Linked DNA regions of Homo sapiens: region 1 is linked to region 2. The links are contacts of gene promoters, found by promoter capture Hi-C in human tissues and cell types (Jung and others, 2019). All regions are on one chromosome and are shown on one strand. The core of a region is centred on a gene start or on the middle of the fragment in contact, and the rest is flanking DNA. Distances in the headings are between cores, read along the strand shown.

Region 1 (4,846 bases), core at 82-2,581, 70 kb after region 2:
CTGGGTAAGAAAGTGAGGGGTTGAATTATGTACACTGGTCTTTTGCCACCCATGTGACCTTGGAAAGCAGATCTCCCTATTTCTTTGCCCATGGCTCACAATTGGCAGAATCTAAATTAGAACTGAGGTCTTCTGGGGTCAGGTTCACCATATCACTCTTGCTTCTTGTGTCTGTGACTGACAAACTCAATATAATCCTCTTCAAATCATCTGTTTTGGATTAGCCCCACGTGGTTACATGCCGAAGATGCATTCACCTGGGCCAGATGTGCCTCACTCATCTTAGACTTACACAGTGCACTATATTCTTGCTACCATCCAGCACTCTCAGCCTCTCCAGGTCCAAACACATCCCTGAGGTCTGTGCTGGGGAACGGGGAGAAAGATCAATTACCCAACATCTTGCCAACCATATCACAGGCCCTTAGACTAGATCATCCTGTGATCAACAAACTGGGTTATTCAGTTCAAAGGAAAAACATTCCACATTAAGATATGAATTAACAAAAAATGTTTTTCTAAATCCATGAAATAAGGAGTTGCCTTTTCAAACCTCTCATCAAATTCATAATACAATACAAATAAATACACATCAATGGGGAAAATCTCACCAAAGTCTTTTTCATTCTTATACATTTCTTTAGACTGTATTGACTGTATTTTCCCCCCACTCTCAAATTATAGTTTGACTTCATTAAGCAAAGCAGCAGAGTTTTTCCCTGGAAGAAATAAGAGACAAGGAATAGCAGGTAGCCTGCGTATTATGAAGTACTAAAGAGGAATCCATATCCCTTTGGCATTCTTGTGCTGTTTTCAGCTTCTCAAAGGAACAGAGGACAGACGTCTTGGAAGGACGGGGCCTCTGGGGACATGGCTGGGTGACCTCTTCTCTCAGCTGAATCTGATGTTGGCAGAGACTGAAAGACACTGTGCAAGTTAGTGATCCACGAAATCATGGCTAATCACATACGCAGTTATATATTTTTAAATGTATCATGAGAAATTCTTGTAAAAGTTTATGCAAATGTTAAATGAAAGAAAACCAGGAACATCCTTGGAAACCGTGGAGGCATCATGAGGAATATGATTCTGCTAAACAAGAAAGATTCAGGACCACTGTTCCCTTGCCACCCACGTGATCTTGAAAAGCAGTTCTCCCTATTTCTTTGTCCATAAACTAAGAGAACAAACTGCTTCATAAATTGTTCCCAGAATCAAATGAAATATTTGTACATAGATTAGTTCTTATTGTTGAGGAAAACTATTTTTAAAAGACAGCATTGTGGAATTTTTGAAATCTGCATTTAATTATCTCTAGAATTGTAAACAGAAAAACATTCTTCATTACATAATTACAGCTACACTTACTGGGAATAAACTCCAAGTTGGTATTTAAGAAGACACAATCAATCAATACACTGTCTCCATAGCCAAATCATTAGGTTGCTGACCTCTGTAGCTCAGACTCTTTTCCATTAAATAAACTAAGAAGCTAGCGTTCTGGGTAATGACTCAATTTTTGTTACATTTTTTTTTGAAATATTGTGAAGTCTTCCTTGGTACAACTTAGCTTTCTCTGATCAAACATAATCTTCACAGAAATGCTAACCCAGGCTCTGAAGTTAAACATCTGTATTTATTTTTAAGGTGTTTGTCCAGATTAAGTATATACCATTGAATTTAGATCATAATCAAAGCTTAAACAAAAATTAGAACATCCTCATGCAAATCTTTAAGAACCTGAGAATAAACCTTTGGATTAAGCTTTAGCATTTTAGGTAAAATCTTTTCTAGGTAAGGACTGAGACTGCACAGTGACCAAAACCTGTTGGAGAGGGGAATATCTCACTCCAATGAGGTGTTCATAGGTAAGAATCAGAGGCCTTGGAGAGCCGAGAGATGGTGTGTCATCCCTCCTTGTCTAGTCTCATGGACTGAGTTTAAATCTTTAGGAGGATCAGTTCTTTCCAGAAGATGCTTTCTGACATTGAACACAAGTAGAACTCCTTTGGCATCTAGGTGAAGAACTGGGCCAGAGTTTGAGATAGTGTCATTTTTACATTTCTGCATAGACCCCAATATGATCTTGCAATTCACAATAGGGGCTTGGGAGCATGAGTAGGCAAAACTCAAATGTTGGGGACTTTGGTATCCTCCAAAGAAGCAGCAGGCTCCTTTAAACAGCTTTGCAGGCAACAGGCAAGGACATAAGGAAGCATGTCAGTGATAATGAGCTGAAGAACACTCTGCTAGCTCATGTGAGACACAATCAGATACAAGACTCCTTTAAACAAGACCAGGCTTTAGGGGAATGGGCTGAGTCCTGTGACTAGGCCACATGCCAGGAGATGGGTGATTAAGAGCATTAGGATTTGTGACAATTGTGTAGAGACTAGAACTGGAATATAGCATATCAATTTTAGCTAGTTACCTACATAGATGGATGTGTGGAACCTCAAAGAGAAAAAGAAAAGAAAAAAATGTTGAAAATATAATAAAATAGCATTTGGTGCATCTGTTAATCTCTTACTTACCTATTTCCCAAGACTATTTAAATGTCCTTCTCTTTAAACACAGTCATGCATTACATAAGGACATTTCGGTCAATGACAGACAACATATACGAAAGGGATCCCACAAGAATGTAAGAGCATATTTTTACTTACATATTTTGCTTACAGTATTCAGTATAGTCATATGTTGTACAGGTTTGTTGCCTTGGACAGTAGGCTACACTGTGTAACCTGTGTGTAGTAAGTTCTGCCATCTGGGTTTGTAAAAACACACCCTATGATGTTGGCACAATGATGAAATTGCCTGATGTCACAGTTTTCAGAACACAGCCCTGTTGTTAAGCAATGCATGAGTGTACTTTTATTTTATTTTCCCCTTTTCACCAAAATTTAATAACTTTAGTTATCTTTACCATAACTCTCTCATGAACATTGATGTAAATAAAACTCAATAAAATTTTAACAAATCAAATTCAACAATGTATCTTTAAAAGGTACATACCAGCCAGGTGTGGTATGTGGTTCGTGCCTGTAAACCCAGCTACTTGGGAGGCCAAGGCAGGAGAACTGCTTGAAGCTGGGAGGCAGAGGTTGCAGTGGGCAGCAATTGCGCCACTGCACTCCAGCCTAGGCAACAGAGCGAGACTCTGTCTGAAAAAATAAAACAAAATAAAATGTACGTACCACAACCAAGTGAGATTTATTCCAAGTACGTAAGTCTGGTTCAACATTTAAAAATCAATTAATATAATCTATTATAGCAAGAAGATAACTGATGCAGAAAAAAATATTTGACAAAATCCAACCCCCTTTAACGATAAAAACTCTCAGAAAACTAGGAGTAGAGGGTAGCTTCCTCAACTTGAAAAAGAATGTCTGCCAAAAAATCTACAGCTAAAATCATACTTAATGTCAAGCAACCAAATGCTTTCCTGAAAAGATCAGGAGCTAAGCTAGGATGACCCTTTCACCACACCTACTTAACATCATACTGGAAGCCCTCACTAGTGCAATAGTGACAAGAAAAGGTAATAAAAAGTAAGCAGATTGGGGAGGAAAAAATAAATTGCCTTTGTTCAAAGATGGCATGATTAACTAAGTAGAAAATCACAAACAATTGACCAAAGAAATCTTCTGGAACTAATAAGCAATCTTAGCATAGTTGCAGAATACAAGGTTAATATACGAAAGTCAATTGTTTTCCTATATACCAGCAATGAACAATTGCAGTTTGAAATTAAAGCAATAAACCAGTTACAACTGCTCAAAAAATAAAATTCTTAAGTACAAACCTACTAAAATATGTACAGGATCTATATACATAAAATATAAAAGTCTGATAAAAGAAATTAAAGAGGATTTAATTAAATGGAGATATATTCCATGCTCATGAATTTGAATTCTCAATATAGTTAAGAGGTTAATTCTGTCCCACAGGATCTGTGGATTCAAGGCAATAGGAATTAAAATTCCAGCAAGCTATTTTGTGGATATTGATAAAATGAATTTAAAGTTTATATGAAAATGTAAAAGAAAAAGAATAGCCAACAGGACACCGAAAAAGAATAAACTCAGTGCACTAACACTACTTGACATCAAGGCTTATGAAATGATGGTAATCAAGACAACACCATGGTACTTGCAAAAGAATGCCTACATGTACCAGTGGAATGGAACACAGAGTCAAGAAATAGGCCCACAGAAATGTAGTTACTAACCATTGACAAGGGAGCAGTGTCAATACAGCAGCGCCATCACTGCTTATAAAAGTGAAGACTCCATACAAGGTAGAAATCTACAAAAATGAGTTGATTGTTTTAAGTGCTGTGTATTTATACAATGGAGTGATGTGGATCTCTATATAAAAATGTCTAGGCTATATTGTAAAGGAAAAGATGGTTCACAAAAATGTTATGCATAGAATCACGCCATTTCTGTAAACATATAACGTGTAAATTCATAGAAAAAACTTGAATCAACATATATCAAACTATGCAGCAGTAATCATCTGTGAATGTGGAATTATAATTGATTTTTACTTTATTCTTTATGTATTTCTAATATTTTTTGAAAATGAAAATATATTAGCTGTTATTTGATATACTTGCCATTAAGATTCTCTGGTCCAGCGTGTCTTCCTCCACAGATGGTAGTATAGGGTGCAGATGGCAAGTTTTCAGTTGTATTGTAGCAATGCTAGGAAGTCAAATATTTAGAATAAGATATTCCCTATTTCCATGAAACATAGAAAGAGTAAATCTATTACAAGGAAGAGAAGAACATAATCTAAAACATGAGCTGCGCCTGCCCCAGTGTCTGCTCCATTATGGAGT
Region 2 (4,946 bases), core at 2,302-4,801:
CACATACTCATAACACATGTGCACACTCACACTTATGCACTCAAACTCACATTCACACAAACTGTTACACAGTCATGCACACACTCGCACACCCAGGTTAGTCTCCCTGAACCCAGAGAGGTGTGGGAGTCCTGAAGAATGAGCTGGATAAAGAAGGCAGCCCCAGGATCTCCTGGGCAGACTCAGCTGTCCCCGAGGCAAGACGCAGTTTGCATGTTGGCCAAGGTTATTATCTTGTCGCCCCTGGAAGCCGAGCTCCTCCCAGAAAGTCCAGGATCAAAGTGGACTCAGGCAGCGGGAGCCCCCAGCCTGCCCTGGGGCACAAGCCAGCCAGCAGGAGGTGAACAGTGTGCGGGCACCACAGAAGAAGCTCGGTGGGGGTCCCAGTGGTGAGAGGCAGGGCTGAATCCAGACCCCAGTCCCCCCACCTCCACCCTGGCTGCGAGTCACCGCCCCGAGCCCCTGTGCCCAGCAACCCAAGCTGGGAGTGCTGTGAACCAGGCCAGCTCCCCTTGGGAGGGCAGAGTACTACAGCCCTACTGAAGGAGTTTTTAGCATAGGCCACCAACCTTTAGTAGGACTGACAGGCCCCAACCCCAGCATCCGCGGGGCTTGGAGGCAGGTGAGCTGAGTCCAGGGAGCCCAACCTGCAAGAGCCTATGCTCAGGGCAAGGTCGCAGGCAATCGCTGCTGGCACTTCATTCCGCCACTGGTGCCAAGTCACAGAGTGGACCGAGCTGGCTGCAGGGAACCACATGCCTAACTCTTCCAACAGTCACAGTGAGCTGCTGTCCCTTGGAGAGCGGGATGGGGGATGGGGAAGAGGGTGTCCATCCTCCAGGAACAGTGGCGAGGAGGACGGTGGATAGAGGGACTGGGAGGGAGCAGAGCGGCCTTTAACCTTAGTGCCACTCCCCAGGACCCCTCCCCGGTCTGCACTGAGGACCATAAATCACGCTTCATGCTAAAAGCCCTTTGTTAACTCGGTCACTAGCTTCCAATTCACAAATAGTAAATGTGCCAGGCACAGTGCCAAGCGCTTAGGATACAGAGATGATCCCTGAGCAGTGACACCCTCTGTGTGTAAGGCACCTGAAGAATCCCTTTCCCAAATCGCTTTTCAAGCTGGCGGGGAGAGAGGTGCATATCCGCTCTGTGGAAGCTTAGCTCTTCATCTATGCGAGTGAGACTAGACCCCTGCAAAATGGAAACTCAAACTGCAAAGTAGAGAACGAGGCCAGCATCCACCCGTGGGTCCCTCCTGCTGCCCCGGGACCCCGCCTGGCCACACCTTCCCTCCACTCGGAGCGCCTTTCTGGGTTTTCCGCTGAGGTTTGTTGAAAAGACGCCTCCCAGACTCTTCACTCACGAAGTGTGTTACAAAAACTCTCCCGGCAACTGTCCTGACCCTCACCAATCACGCTACAGCCCCCATTCGATTGCTTGCACAAAGAAAACATTTAACACAGGTGTGATCAACCTCGGTCAAGATGCAGAGTCATCAACCTCGGTCAAGATGCAAAAAGGTGGCCTTTTCTGCGAAGGCCACGCCCTCTGTAAATACAGTTACTACTTGGTGAAAAGCGCTCTACTTCCTAGCTCTTGTTGGTGAGAGGGAGAGCAAAGAACCAGGGCCCGGCATTCTTACGAGAGGAATTCAATGTCACAGGCACTGCCTGTTTGAGGAGAAGATCAGAAACGGTCCGACTCCCAGAACGCAGCACCCAGTTGCTTTGCACGCCAGGCCAGTCCTGGGGAAACGGTGCAACGCTTGTCTGGGCGTCGAGGAGGCTCCCTTGCGGTCCTCCCTGGGCCCTTGCCAGTCCCAAGGAGTTCCAACCCTGCTTTCTAACCCTTTAAAATCTGGAGAGGGCGGCCGCTGGGAGGCGGGACTAGGTGTTGGGGGTCTATAGCCTTAGCATCCAGTACTTTTGTAGTAGGGGCTTTTGTGGAGGTTTTAAAAAATAAGTAAGAAACGTCAAGGCACTGTCTCCCTGTACCTCGTCCCTCTTTTTCTTTTTTGAATGACCGGAGTCCTTCACTTCTTCCTTCACGGTTGCTGGGATTTGGGGTCTGGGAGAGATGGCCTCTGGGCCGTCTGGAGGCACAGCATGCTGTGCTTGCAGGGTCACTGGGGCGAGGGGCTCAGGTAGGAGCCTGACTGTACCTACGATGGGGACGCATCCGCCTTCCAGCCACAGCAATGGCCATCCTTAGTACACAAGTCAGTACTCCACGAAAGAAAATCCACGTGTAACTAAATTCAACATAAACAGTTTCCAGCACATGCCCGTCCCGAGCATCCTGTTAAGAGATACCCCGATCGCGCGCCCCAGAGTGGGAAGTGAGAGAGCCAGGCTGTGCACCAGGGACAGCGCGCGTCTGACGCCGCTGGCCTCCCGAATCGAACCCCAGAGCACCAGAGCCCTTCACTTTGTTAAGAAGTCCCCCACCCAGGCGCCCCCCTCGTCCTCCTCAAGTGCCCTCGGAAAGCGGACCAGACTCACCTACTGCCAGGCAGATGGGCAGCAGCAGCCTGAAGATGAGCCCGCACACCACTTCTGAGGCCATCGCGTCGGTCCGGCGAGTCGGAGCAGAGGGGCGAGGCTCGAGGGTCCCTAGGGGTGGTGGGACGCAAGGCCCATGCCCGTCTATGGCCTCTCGCCGCCGGCAGCTCGCAGCCACCCGAGCATCGCCTCGGCGCGGGCCGCGACGCTCTCCGCCCCGAGGGCACGCTCCCGGGGCTCTTGGCCGCCCCTCGCCCACCGGGCTCTGGGTAGCCCCTCACCAGGCTCTTGGCGGCCACCTAGCCCGGCGCCCGGCCCCCTGCGGCCGGCCCATTTAGTGTGAATCCTGGATCCGGCAGCGGCGGCGGCTTCTTCAGGGGTAGCTGATGCCGGGGCCTTGGAGAGGGACGCTTTGGGAGGGTCCTGGGAGGCGGCGCGGCGAGCAAAGGGGGCAAGAAGGGCGTGCTGTGCTCCCGCCTGGCTCCCGGGGCGTCGTTTGGGGGCGGCCGGGGAGTTTTCTACTTGGAAGCCCCTCTGAAGCCACCGCGTCTCCTTTGCCCGGCCTCGTCTCCGCTGCCCACGCAGGCTGCCGCGCTCTGGCCTCGGCCCCGGCTCTCGGAGCTGCCCGGCGGGCTCCGGGTCTCGCCCTCCAGCCCCCAGGCGGCCCGCGGCGGATCCCCGAGAGGCAGCGCAGCTCAGCCCCTGCGCCCCCCAGCTTCGGGCCGGAGAGACCGGGGTGGGAGCTGCCAGGCGCGCAGAACCATCCCCGCCACCACGGGGCTCGCCTTGTGGGTCCGGTGCGCGGGCGGCGCTGCGAGTCCCTCCCTCACTCGAAGGAACGGCGCGAGCGTGGGGAGAAATGGAGACCAGAGCGCATATCGGGTGAGTGGGTCTCCCACTCCCTCCTCCACCGCCTCAATTTAAAACTCAAGAGAAAAACCAGCGCCGTCCCGTCGCCCAGCGCGACCACCGCCTGCCGCCTTGCAGCCTCGCCCTCGCGGCGCAGCCGGGGCTCCCCGGCGGCGCGCGCTTCTCCACCTTCAATGAAACTTTCGAAGCCCTCACTCGGGGACGGGCGTGTCCCCCGGCCAATGGGATGGCGGCTCCGGGGCCTGCGCGCGCGGAGCCCGCCCCTGAGCGGCTGGGGAAGTGAGAGCCTTGCACCGGCGCGGAGGGCAAGCCCCCACCCGCGGCTCCCGCGCCTGGGAGAGACCCGGCCTGGCCTGCCAGTGGGCTGCGCGCCTTGGCTCGCCCTCCGCGGGCACTCCTGCCCCACTGGCTCCCGCAGCCCCGCGGCTCTGCGTGGTTCTGTCATTCCGGTGGTGCACCCTGGCATCCAGTCCACCCGGCCGGGCCCTGAGCTTGCCCAAACCCAGGGAACCGTTTAAGGTCCGAGGGAAACGCACAGGCCCGGCAGGAGAGAAGCCAGGGGCTTGGAGAGTCCTGTGCGACCCCGACTTCTGCTGGGTCCACAGGTGCACACTGGCATTAAGAAGAATAGAGCTGAATTCATCTACACCGTTGACCCTGCCCATATTTCACATAGCAAGAACTTGCCATTCTGAATAGACTCTGGGAAATCCCGGGTCTTCCCCAACAGATAATGCACCCACTTTGTGCATTTGGGGGAACTCTCCGTTTTCACCTCAGTTTTGCTCCTTGCTTGTCGTGGCTCTGGGGAAAGAGAGCGTTGGCACTGAGAATATTCTCCCTTTCTCCTAGTGCACTGCTTTTTGCCTGTTCTAGGCAAGATCTAGAGAAATCTGGCTCTAGCTGGGAGACTGCAGTGTGCCTGGGTCTTTTATTTAACTGTTATCCGAGAGTGGAGGAGATTTGCTAGAGCACAGTAGGGGTCTTTCCGGACATGGAGGAAGAGGCTGTTAGCATCTGTAGAGAGGACTGTTCAGGACTGGCATTCCATCAGGAGGACACACTGGGAAGGACCTGGCTTCCCTTCCGCACCTACATTCCTGGCTTGCATTAGTTGGAGGGGATAGAGCAGTGAGCTGATGAAAAACAGGCAAACCCCCGTCTTTTTAGCCATTTGAAACGCTTTTGTGGACATCCCTTTTTTGAGACAGGGTAAGCTTGTGGTTTGAGCTCAGGTGCCTTCACGAATTCTCTGAGAATTACAGAAAAACTATGAACCATTGCTTTTTGAATGAAGACTCAAGACAGTTGGCATATGGTGAAGACACCCTGAAACTTAAACCACCCATGTGCTCTGCCATCCTCAAGAAGCTTAGATAGCACCTAAACCCGGGCGTAGTCATGAGCTCAACAGCAGACCTACAGGAGACGATAGAACTTAAATTAGCATCCAGTCACCAAGAAATGCTATCAAGAAATGGTTTGTGTAGCCTGTTTGTAGAAGCCTGATATAAATCTACCACTAATTTTGATGTTCATAAGTCTGCCTTCACATCCATGCCCTCCCCA

What was found. The method cuts DNA at HindIII sites, captures the fragments that hold promoters and counts their contacts. A contact is called where the count stands out against the background at its distance.
Region 1: a contact is called between a fragment that was not itself captured here and the fragment with the promoter of PIEZO2 in region 2, in 2 of the 25 tissues and cell types used here (aorta and lymphoblastoid cells).

The regions. Positions count from the first base shown.
Region 1 is chr18:11,218,392-11,223,237 of GRCh38, forward strand. No RefSeq gene overlaps it. Among named protein-coding and RNA genes, the nearest start is that of PIEZO2, 71 kb to the left of the region's middle. The HindIII fragment of the contact is 4,419 bases long and covers 1-3,541 here.
Region 2 is chr18:11,146,018-11,150,963 of GRCh38, forward strand. PIEZO2 (piezo type mechanosensitive ion channel component 2) reads right to left here and starts at 3,552. Exons shown (of 56, transcript NM_001378183.1): 1 at 2,508-3,552. The coding sequence starts at 2,571. LOC124904249 (a long non-coding RNA gene) reads right to left here and starts at 2,499. Exons shown (of 2, transcript XR_007066288.1): 1 at 1-2,499. RefSeq lists enhancers at 2,045-2,094, 2,123-2,961 and silencers at 2,655-2,724, 2,735-2,914, 2,935-3,214, 3,455-3,904. The HindIII fragment of the contact is 6,242 bases long and covers 324-4,946 here.